2 separate regions of the Homo sapiens genome follow, and region 2 is linked to region 1. The links are contacts of gene promoters, found by promoter capture Hi-C in blood cells and fetal thymus (Javierre and others, 2016). All regions are on one chromosome and are shown on one strand. The core of a region is centred on a gene start or on the middle of the fragment in contact, and the rest is flanking DNA. Distances in the headings are between cores, read along the strand shown.

The links. The method cuts DNA at HindIII sites, captures the fragments that hold promoters and counts their contacts. A CHiCAGO score of 5 or more calls a contact.
Region 2: a contact is called between a fragment that was not itself captured here and the fragment with the promoter of PDE2A in region 1, in 2 of 17 cell types (endothelial precursors and megakaryocytes). The highest score is 5.3, in endothelial precursors.

What each region holds. Positions count from the first base shown.
Region 1 is chr11:72,671,251-72,676,823 of GRCh38, forward strand. It overlaps PDE2A (phosphodiesterase 2A), which reads right to left and starts at 3,172. Exons shown (of 31, transcript NM_002599.5): 1 at 2,887-3,172. The coding sequence starts at 2,957. RefSeq lists enhancers at 1,741-2,367, 2,368-2,993, 2,994-3,620, 3,621-4,245, 4,396-4,896. The HindIII fragment of the contact is 6,386 bases long and covers 1,515-5,573 here.
Region 2 is chr11:72,553,961-72,559,533 of GRCh38, forward strand. No RefSeq gene overlaps it. Among named protein-coding and RNA genes, the nearest start is that of LINC01537, 14 kb to the right of the region's middle. The HindIII fragment of the contact is 1,128 bases long and covers 2,796-3,923 here.

The DNA of each region.
Region 1 (5,573 bases), core at 1,922-4,421:
GTCTGCTCTGTGTCCCCGGTGACAAGCCAAGTGGGCACCAAGCAGCTACTGAGAAGTTCCTGTTGAGTGGTTGAATGAATGAATGCAGCAATGGAATCATGCTGAGTCGGGAGATTTCATAGGCCCAAGCAGCAGAAGCCCGGGGAGCGCAGGCCTGGCCTGACAGCAGCATGGCTGAGGGTGAGACTCCCAGTCCATTAAGACCAAGGGGTAAAGGACTGCTGGGAGCTCTTCCCCCCACCCCCGCCCCCACCCCCCACCATTTGGCTAGATCCCAGCCAAGCCATCAGCAGTCCCTGGGGACAGGAGGCTGGAGTGGGAAGCAGGAAGAGTGGCAGGAGCTGCTTGGTGGGCAGGGGGAATGACTGCGGGGGGTGGGGGTGCAGGGAGCATAAAGACAATTAACCCTCACTGAGCTGACCAAGCTCAGCAACCAAGAGGTTCCGGGCAGGGCCTGAAGGAGAATGATATTGAGGGTCAGGTCTGATGAAGAGGTTGAGCCCCAGCCTTGCAGCCAAAGGGTAGTGATGAAGCCATAGTCTCAGTTTCCCTGTCTGGCAAGAGATGGCTCCATGATCTCTGACCCTCTGCATCCTAGCTAGAAACACTACAAAGATCTCTCCCACTACCTCAGCCCACCCACGCCCAGCTTTCCTGAGCCTTCCATGAGCCTTTTCCCTCATGAGATCCTGACTTACTGAGATGTCTGCACTACACCCCTGACCCCAGTCCAAGCCTGAGCCACCTAGACATTCCCTTCCCTGTTCTCATCTATCCAGCCTTTCCCAAGTTCTCAAAAAGCTCCAGAACTCACTGACCCCTGTATTGGCTTGGCCTCCACTCTAGCCTCCTGGCCCCACCTCTCTCTTCCAGTTCAACCCAGACAATGCCACCGAGGCAGGTTTCTTTATTTTTCTTCTTCTTTTTTTTTTTCTTCTTTTGAGACAGAGTCTCACTTTGTCACCCCCAGGCTAAAGTGCAGTAAGGCAATCTCAGCTCACTGCAACCTCCACCTCCCAAGTTCAAGCGATTCTCATATTCTCATGCCTCAGCCTTCTAAGTAGCTGGGACTACAGGCGTGTGCCACCACACCCAGCTAATTTTATTGTATTTCTAATAGACACTGGGTTTCACCATGTTGGCCAGTCTCGTCTCAAACTCCTGGCCTCAAGTGATCCACCTGCTTCTGCCTCCCAAAGTGATGGGATTACAGGCATGAGCCACCATGCCTGGCCCAGGGCAGGTTTCTAGAACCCAAATCTGATCATGTCTCTCCCCTATATAAAACCTTTCTGGGCTCCCCAGGGCTCTCTGGATAAAGCCTAAGAGTCCTGGATCTTAAAGTTCTATTGAATGTGGGTCCTGCCTGCCCCCCACTCTATACAGTGTCTTCACTGCTCCAGGACATGCCCAGCCCAGGGCCTTTGCTTATGCAGTTCCCACCCCACCCCCACCTGTTAGCATGACGTTGATCTCTACTGCTTAATTATTCTCAAGCTATTTTATGTCTAAGAAGCTTAGGAAGCCCCAGAGGGCAGAGTCATTATTGCCTATTTCTTTTCTGCATCTTTCCCACAGGGTGTAGAATGAATTGTCCTGAGTTCAAAGAGGCGGTCATACATTCAGCCCCTCCCTGCCCTGCATCAGTGGGCCATGGTGTCCCAGCTGTATCCTCAATTGCCAGGGGAAGGAAACAGCCACCCACACACACTCAGATGAATACACACATATAGATACACACACACACCAGCCACAGAAGCACCGATATACACACTAGCACCATGATCACACACCCACACCAGAATACTTATACGCACACAGCCACATCCACCTCCACACACAGCAATGCTATTATTCACACACTAACAAATACACACACATAAATGCACATGGAACAGATAAAAAATGCACACTGATTCACTCTATTTTGCAGACACAACACACATAATATACAAACTCAACCTAATAGACACACCTACATACATATGCAGACCAACCTGCACTCACACTCAGACACATGCGAATAAACTCTCACTCACACAGGGATGATCACAAACTCTGACAGGCTGCTTTACATCCAACCACCAAGGACCCTAGAGCTCTACAGGCCCCTCTACACCCAACATGTCCCTTACATTCCACATGTATACACACACACACACACACACATACCCTGCCTACCACCTCGGCAGCCCTTAGTAGAGGGGTGTCGCCACGGCGCCCCCCACTCACTTGCACATGCACCCCCCTGCACGTGGACACACACGAGGCTGGCACCATATTCCATCTGGCTCCGTAGAACCCTATCCTGGGACAGACGCTTTGGGGTAAAGTTTCATAAAGTGGTGTCCCTGAACCCCAATTCCCAATTCCATGGAAGGTGGTTACCTCTAACCCTCTCTTGCTCCAGGGCCACTCTTATTCATATTTTCTCCATCTTTCCCCCTCCCCACCTCCTTCACACACACATAGCCTTGGTGGGCCAAGACACTCTCCCTCTCCGGGTCCTGAACCAGCCTATTGCAGCCCCGAGAGCTCCTCCCAACTACTTGGCAGACCTCCCCCTCCCCACATACACCCTCAGCCCTTGAAGAACCGGTTCAGGTTCATTATCAGCCCCTCCTCCAACCAGCAGCCCCTTCCATGGGACCCCAGCCTCATCACCTACTAGGTTGACGTTAGACACCCTCATTCTGCTCAGAGGTAACCTGCCCCCACCCCAGGCTGCAGTCTGGCAACGCGGGGAGGAGGGGTGCCCAGGAACAGGATCGATCCTTCCACGTGGCTCAGCTCCATGCCAACCCCAGCTCCTTGGAGGGACTCCCAGGACCCTGTCTGTGGCACCTCTCACAGCCGCTCACCACCCCAGCCCCTCACTATACTCACGGCTCAGCCGGTCGCGCTGCCGGGTACTGCTGGCTCCTGCAGAGGATGGAGTGGCCGCATGCCTGCCCCATCACTCCTCATCGTCCGCCTCCCCAGCCAGACTAAGGTGGCACCTCGCCCTGTCCCCGCTGCCTGGAGTTCAGGGCAGGGCACCCCCAGCAGGCACAGGGACCAAGAGCAGTGGGCTGCCCCCTACTCAGCCTGGACTCAACACCCCAATCCAGCTCTGCTGCCCCGCTGCTCCCGCCTCTCCCGCTGCCACTGCCTCTGCTGCTCGGCTGGCTCTGGGAGGAGGTTGGAGCAGGTCTGATAATGCAGAAGGGGGAGGGAGGAGGGAGGAGGAACAGAGAGAGGCCCAGACAGAGAGGGAGAGAGGGAGAGAGGGAGGGGTAGAGAGAGAGTCTGACTGGGAGAGAGGAAAAAAGACTCACAGACAGAGAGACTGAGAGATAAACAGAGACAGGAAGGGGGACAGTAACACATGAAGAGGGAGAGGAGAGAGGGATCAGAGCCTTAGCGAGATCAAGATGGAAGTACAAAGAGACCAGAGAGGCATAGAGAAACACACACACAGAGGAACAAAGGCAGAAAAGGAAAAAAAATCAGAGGCAGAAATAGAAAGAGAGTGGGGTAGGGGGAAAGGGGAGTGGCTGACAGAGGAGAGAGGGGAGAGGACGAGGGATTTACAATCCTCATGGGCTAGGATGGGGCTGGGGACTTGAGGGGCAGCAGACCCAGACCCTCTGCTGCCCCATCGCAGAAGCCTTCAGGATGAGGGGACACGCTTGTGCCCTCAAGTCTGAGAGATCAGGCCTCCATGCACAGCTAGCTGCCCTCTCCTCTGGGCTCCCTCACCCGGTGTGTATCATCTCCTAGCGTGCATCCCAGCCTGGAGCTGGGTCCACGGAAGACTTAGGGGGCTTTACTGATGGCCTTTGGACTCAGAGCCTTGTCACAGGGCCCACCTCTTGGTGGCTTGGTTTAGCTGGGACTTGGAGCTGATGCGTGAGCATGGACTTCTACCAGGATCTGTGGAGACCTAGGCCACAGCCTGCCCCACATGGCCTTCGCTGCTCACAGACTACAGGCATGGGGGAAGGCCTGTTGCACCCCCACCCTGCTTCCAAAGAGGACTCCCTAGGATAAAGCTATAACCTAGTGAAATAGAGGCATTTTAGGCCCTAGGACAGATAGAGAGTTGTCACAGCAGAGCTACTATTGTATGCAGGAGAAACAGCTCCACACCTTGAGGCAGGAAATGGGGATTTGGATCCTGGCTTCACCATTAACTTACTTATTCATTGGCCTACCAGTGGCTGAGCTCATGGCTCACACTATCCCTTGTCTCAGAGAAGCACTCGGGCTGGGGAGTGGGGAGGGGAGACTTGCAGGCTGTGACAGAAAGAAGCACAGGGTCTGTGAAGCCCAGAGGGACCCCTGACCTAGTTTGGGTGGTGGGGGGGCGGTTAGCAAGCATTTCTGGAAGAGAGGGTCCAAGCTGGGTCTTTTAAGGCAGAAGAGGGTATATTCCAGGGTAGAGGAGCTACAGCAAACCCTCCACAGCAACCCCATCTCTCTGAGCTGTGGGGAGAATACCTCCCCGCCACACAACAGGCTTCAAGCAGAGAAGTCCCTGAGGCTGAATAGAAACCTGACCCATGTTGAAGAACATGGGGGTGCACGGTGGAGGGGGCAAGGTCAGAAATGACTGAGCTTGTGTAGATGGCCTGCCCAGGCTGGGTGCTGCAGAAAGCAGTTGTCTTGTGGCCTGGGAAGTGTCAGGAAAGAAAATATGAGGAGTCTTTGCTTCCCACTGTGGCCCCAGAAGGCATCATAGAATTTTAGATCTCTGAACTCTGGGCAAACCATTTTCTCAAAGGGAACGAGGCCCAGGCTGGTTGTAAAGCAGCTGAGCCAGCCCAGAACTCATGTCTTGCTTCTCCACCTCACCTATCACTGGGGCCTCGCTGCTCCATTCCTGACAGCTAGGAAGGCATTCTCTGGGCTCAGGAAGCTGCAGCCCTGGACCATGGCGTCCTGCTCCCTCACAGCTCCCCTTCATGTCCTGGGAACCTGCTCACTGGTCGGAGGAACCTGGCAGCAAGAAGCTGAGTCAGAAGAGTTCAAAGGAGGGTTCCTCCTGGGCATGCATGGGTGCAGGTGTGACGAGGTCTCACCTGGCCCTCAGCCTCCTTTCTGCCCTCCCACTTCAGAAACAATGGTGGTGGCCTCATCTTCAGAAATCTCCTGGGAATACACTCAAGCAAGCAGGTGGAAGGGAAGGTCTCCTCCCCATCCCACTGCCACACCAGACTCCACAGCCACCCAGAAGTGGAGAGTCTGCAGGAACAAACTGCAAGATTCAGGACTCAGAAGGGCTAATGGGCACTCAGGACTTAGAGCCCGGCAGGTGGAATTCAAATCCCAGCTCTGCCAAGTGCCTAGGCAAGGTATTTCACCTTCCTGAACTTCAATTTAGTTTCCTCATCTGAAATATGGGGTCACGAATTCCAAGCTCAAAAGGTTGTGAGGTTTTGGGAATGTCTGAAAAGTTCCCAGTAAATAGTTGCCCCTCTCCTCCCATCTCATTTCCTGAAGTCGTCAGGAGAGTAATAGCCCCAAATGCTGGGATAGGGGCTCCTGTAGGCCAGTGCCGGGATGGGGGAGGTGCATAAAGGGGAGAGAGC
Region 2 (5,573 bases), core at 2,110-4,609, 120 kb before region 1:
GCCAGCTTCTTGTGTGTGCATCCCAGATGGTCTTCGGGGATTGGGCTATCCTGCCAGCTGGACCCAAGATGCCAAGCTGGAAAATGATGGTCATCAGCTAAGTCTCCTCCTCCCTCCCATCTATCTATGTCCTGTGACCTGAGGGGTCCCTCCCTGACCCACTCACCGTGTTGGTTTCCTAGGGCTGCTGGAACTAACGGTCACAAACGGGTGACTTCAAACAACAGAAATGTATGGTCTCACAGTTCTGGAGGCTGAACGGCTGAAATCACAGTGGTGTCGGCCGTGTTCTCTCTGAAGGTTCTAGGGATCTCTCCTTGCCTCTTCCAGCCTCTGGAGATTGCTAGCTTCGGTTCCTTGGTTTGTGGTAGCACAACTGCAGTCTCTGCCTCCGTCTTCATATGGGCTTCTTCCTGTGCGTCTGTGTTATTTCCCTCTTCTCATAAGTCTTCTTACACCAGATGCTGGATTACAGCTCACCACAATATGATCCATCTTAACTTGATCACACCTTCAAAAAAACACCCTATTTCACACTCATTGATAGTGGAGGTGAGGACTTGCACAGATCTAGAGACTGGAGGACGTAGTTCAACCCACAACAGCTACCAACCTGGAGTGCTATAGTTGTCTGTTTTGAACCCAAGTCTCTTCTGCTCTTCTGTGTCTGAAGCTAAAGCCCTCTTCCTGGGAGTCCCTTCTGGCCCCTCTGTCTTTGTCTGAAGACAAAATGAGGAATGAGCTCCCTCCTTCCCAGAAATGCACCTTCATGGAGCCCTGCACTTCAGAGAGCTGCAGCTTTAACAGTGGCTGAAACCTCTCATGCCTTAAATATCCTCACAGCAGCCTTAACAAGGTTTATTATTTTTTAAAAATGTCACTAGGTTTTAAAATGTCACTAGGAGAACAGGTGGTGTTTGGTTACATGAATAAGTTCTTTAGTGGTAATTTCTGAGAGTTTGGTGCACCCATCACCTGAGCAGTGTACGCTGTATCCAATGTGTAGTCTTTTATCCCTCAACCCCCTCCCACCCTTTCCCCCAAGTCCCCAAAGCCCATTGTATCATTCTTATGCCTTTGCATCCTCATAGCTTAGCTCCCACTTACAAATGAGAACATACGATGTTTGGTTTTCCATTCCTGAGTTACTTCACTTAGAATAATGGTCTCCAATTCCATCCAGATTGCTGCAAATGCCATTACTTCATTCCTATACATGCATACATACACACATACCTATATATTTCATTCCTATATATACATACATACCACAATTTCTTCATCCACTCATTGATTGATGAGCATTAGGGCTGGTTCCATATTTTTGCAATTGCAAACTGTACTGCTATAAACATGCGCATACAAATATCTTTTTTGTATAATGACTTCTTGTCCTCTGGGCAGATACCCCAGGAGTGGGATTGCTGGATCAAATGGTAGTTCTACTTTGAGTTCTTCAAGGAATCTCCACACTGTTTTCCACAATGGTTTTACTAATTTACATTCCCACCAACAATGTAAAAGTGTTCCCTTTTCACCACATCCACGCCAACATCTATAATTTTTTGATTTTTTTTATCACGGTCATTTTTGCAGGAATAAGATTGTATCACATCGTAATTTTGATTTGCATTTCCCTGATCATTAGTGATGTTGAGCATTTTTTCAGAAGTTTGCTGGTCATTTGTTTATCTCTTAAGGTTTGTGGCCGGGGCGGTGGCTCATGCCTGTAATCCCAGCACTTTGGGAGGCCGAGGCGGGCGAATCATGAGGTCAGGAGTTTGAGACCTGCCTGGCCAACATAGTGAAACCCTGTCTCTACTAAAAATACAAAAAAATAGCCACGCATGGCAGCGTGCGCCTATAGTCCCAGCTACTTGGGAGGCTGAGGCAGGAGAATTGCTTGAACCCGGGAGGCGGAGGCTGCAGTGAGCCGAGATCATGCCACTGTACTCCAGCCTGGACGACAGAGCAAGACTCCGTCTCAAAAAAAAAAGAAAAAAAGAATGTTTATCATTATTCCCATTTTATAGATGAGGAAGCTGAGACTTGGGAAAGTTAACAGCCTTACACAAAGCCATGCAGCAAGGAAATGGCAGAGCAGGGACTTGAAGCAGTTCTGCCTGATGCTAGAGATCATGCCCTGAACCACTGCATTCTACTGTCTAGATGCTTCCCCTTGGCGGGCAGCTGCCAGCCGTCAAGAGGGTCCATGGGAAGCACATCCCACAACTTAGAAAAGTGACACGGAAAACTAAAAGCTTAAGAGAGAAAACAAAATTGGGGGCCTGTGTTTTGGTCACTAGGAAGACCCAGGGATGAGGAGTCACATGAAGAGATTAAAAACAGATGCTTAGGGGCAGTTTGGGGTGACATTTCTTTAAGGAGGATTTTTTTCCATTGGTGATATTTTAGAATTTATTTGATGGCAACATAGTATAAATTTTGTTCTTTTTCTCTGACCTACTTTTATATGCCCCACTCATAGTGAATGTCGTTTTGCATCCTGGAACCTGCCAGTGTCCTGGAAGCCAGTTTGTTTTGATCCATGTTCAGCCAGTCATGCAAGCAGGATTCCGTCGTGAACATGATTCCCATTGATGGGAGGCCTGGCTGTTTGTCATGCAGGCATGGTTTTGCTGGGCAGACTGTTTTCTTCTGTTGAATGAGGTGACTTGTGTGACCGTGATCACCACTGAGATAGTACTGAAGCTCTGCAGGCCAGCCCAGGGCTCCTGAGTAGATGAAATCGCTCAGATTGGATTTTTAATAATAAATGACTCACATGTCATTTAAGCTTTCAGTGAATTTTTGCTGAGTCCATACTCCATCTCAGGTTCTGTGTTGGGTGCTAAGGACATAAAATGAACTAGATTTAGTCTCTCCCCTCAAGGAACTCAGGCTATATTAGAAGAGAAGACAGGCAATTACAACCAATGGGATCAGTGCTTCAAGAAAGCTGCACCAGTCAGCGTTCTTAGCTGTGTACGCCATACAGGTTTAAGTAGAAGGAGAAGAGAACTAGGCTTAGTGCTACACAGCCAAAGACAACAGGGCCAGGGACAATGCAGCCAGCCAAAACGCCCAACTGTGCCACGGGAATTTCTACTGGAAACACTACCTGTAACTTGGCACCTATGTGAGGTTCTGGCTATTAGAAACTCCCCCATGGACAGCCCTGAAATACCCAGACACCTCTGTCACAGCTCCTTTCCAGATGATTCTATCCACCTGCATGCAGTCATCAATGCCTAGGATGTACTTCCACCTCCACATCTGACTGGGGCACTTTCCTGATGGAACTCAGGTCACACATGAAACCCAAGCTGCAGAGGAGCCTAGAAAATGTCATTTTAGTTTTCCAGCTTCTACAACAGGAAGGCAGTCTAGAAGGGATTGGGCAAGTAGGTAATTGTAACTGCTATTTTGGAAAAATATATGCACCAGTGAGCTGGGCCAGATCACAGAGAGTTTGCTTGGGTACAAAGATTGGTAAGAATAGCGATTCAGACCAGGGTTCAAGGGTGCTTCCACTTTGGTTCACTGCTGAGAGAGCAAATAAGCTGGTAAAGGTAGAGATACAAATATGCCCTCATACAGGGGCACTTGGAGCCAAATGGTCAAAGCACAGCAACAAATCCACCAGGGCAGGGAAGCCCTTGCTGCCCATTGGCAACCCTTTATTCTGCTGGGCTGAGGGGGAGTGTCCACATCAGCACTGTTGGCATGAAGTGGATTCCTTGTTTTGCCAGTGTCAACTTCTGTGTCCCCCTCTCTCTGCATCATCAAGCCTATCATAATGTGGCCTTGACCCACCACAGCGACATAAATATTTCAGTGATCAATATCAATATCCAATTGTGATTGGATCCCAATATTACTGGCTAAAAGTGGAGTTGGAGGAAGGATAATGTCTATATTAAAGCTTCTGGGATTTTTTTCCTTTATATCCTTTTTTCTTATATATATATGATATAGAAATAGAAACAGAATTTACCTGTGGTAACAAGTTGATCAATTATTTGGTGCAAATATTTTAAGAGACATTTTGATTACTCAGTAGTAAATCCAAAATCTTATTCTGATATGAAGGAGTTCTAAGCAATGAGATGCTAATTTGTTCTGCATTAAAGTGTAAATGTTGACTGAGAGGCATATGCTAAACTAGAGAGACAGAGGGAAACTAGTTTTCCATCTCACCAGGCATCAGATAAGAAGGTGGAATGCCCTGACTCCAGGTAGGGACACATTCTTGGTGATAGATCAGGAGCTGGAGAAAGAGACTTCCACCAGGGACCCTTCTCTTCCAAGGAAGTATGTTAAGTTTAAACCCTAAAGACAATAATATAGTGGCTAATTTAAAATGTTTTCCCTATCTCTACATTATGATTTCTTTCCTGTTATCCCAGGATTTTAGTAGAATTTTGTAGAACTTTCTTACCATGCTTTGGGAATTATGGGAAATACACTTATCTATACTTGATGAAGTTAGATTGAGGAAAGGCAAAATCATCACAGATTCAAGAAATACTATTTGCAAACCACACTGAAAAAGACATGCTATGAATCTCAAACAGAATAAATACAAAGAAAACCACATCTAAGCACATTGTGATAAAACTTCTGCAGACCAAAAATAAAGATAAATTATTCAAAGCAGCCAGAGAAAAACATGTATTACTTTCAAAGGAGAAATAATAAGACTGATGGCTGACTTTTCATCAGAAACAATAGAAGTCCAGGGGCTGGGCGCAGTGGCTCACACCTATAATCCCAGCAATTTGGGAGGCTGAGGCGGGTGGATCACAAGGTCAGGAGATCGAGACCATCCTGGCTAACACACGGTGAAACCCCGTCTCTATGAAAAATACAAAAAAATTAACTGGGCGTGGTGGTGGGCACCTGTAGTCCCAGCTACTCGGGAGGCTGAGGCAGGAGAATGGCGTGAACCCAGGAGGCAGAGCTTGCAGTGAGCGAGATCACGCAACTGCACTCCAGCCTGGGCAACAGAGCGAGACTCTGTCTCAAAAAAAAAAAAAAAAAAAAAAAAAGCAACAATAGAAGTCCAAAGAGAATAGAATGTTATCTTCAAAGGGCTAAGAGAAATACTTCCTAACCTAGAATTCAATAGCAGCAAAAATATCCTTCAAGAATAAAGAAGAAATATTTTTTTATTTTTTATTTTAATTAAAAATACAGGATGCATGCCTGCCTCTTTCTCCCAATCTCTTGAGAAAACACCCAGTTGGAAGGGGAGAGGACCTTGCCTTCAGGGCAGGAGGTAGGCTCCGTTGCAAAGACATTTAATAACAGAAATAGTAGAATTCACCAGCAGCAGGCCTGCACTAAAGGAAATACTAAAAGGGTATTTTTCATGTCAAAAGGAATGATCACCCCAGATGGAAGCTTGAAGATGTGCATTAACAATAGAAATGAAGAAATAAATTCTAATATATTCATACAATGGTATATTCAAAACATATACAAGAGTTTCCTAGGAACATTGTTCCCAACAGCCAGAAGCTTCATATCCAAATGTCTATTCACATTCAAACATGGAGTACTCTATAGCA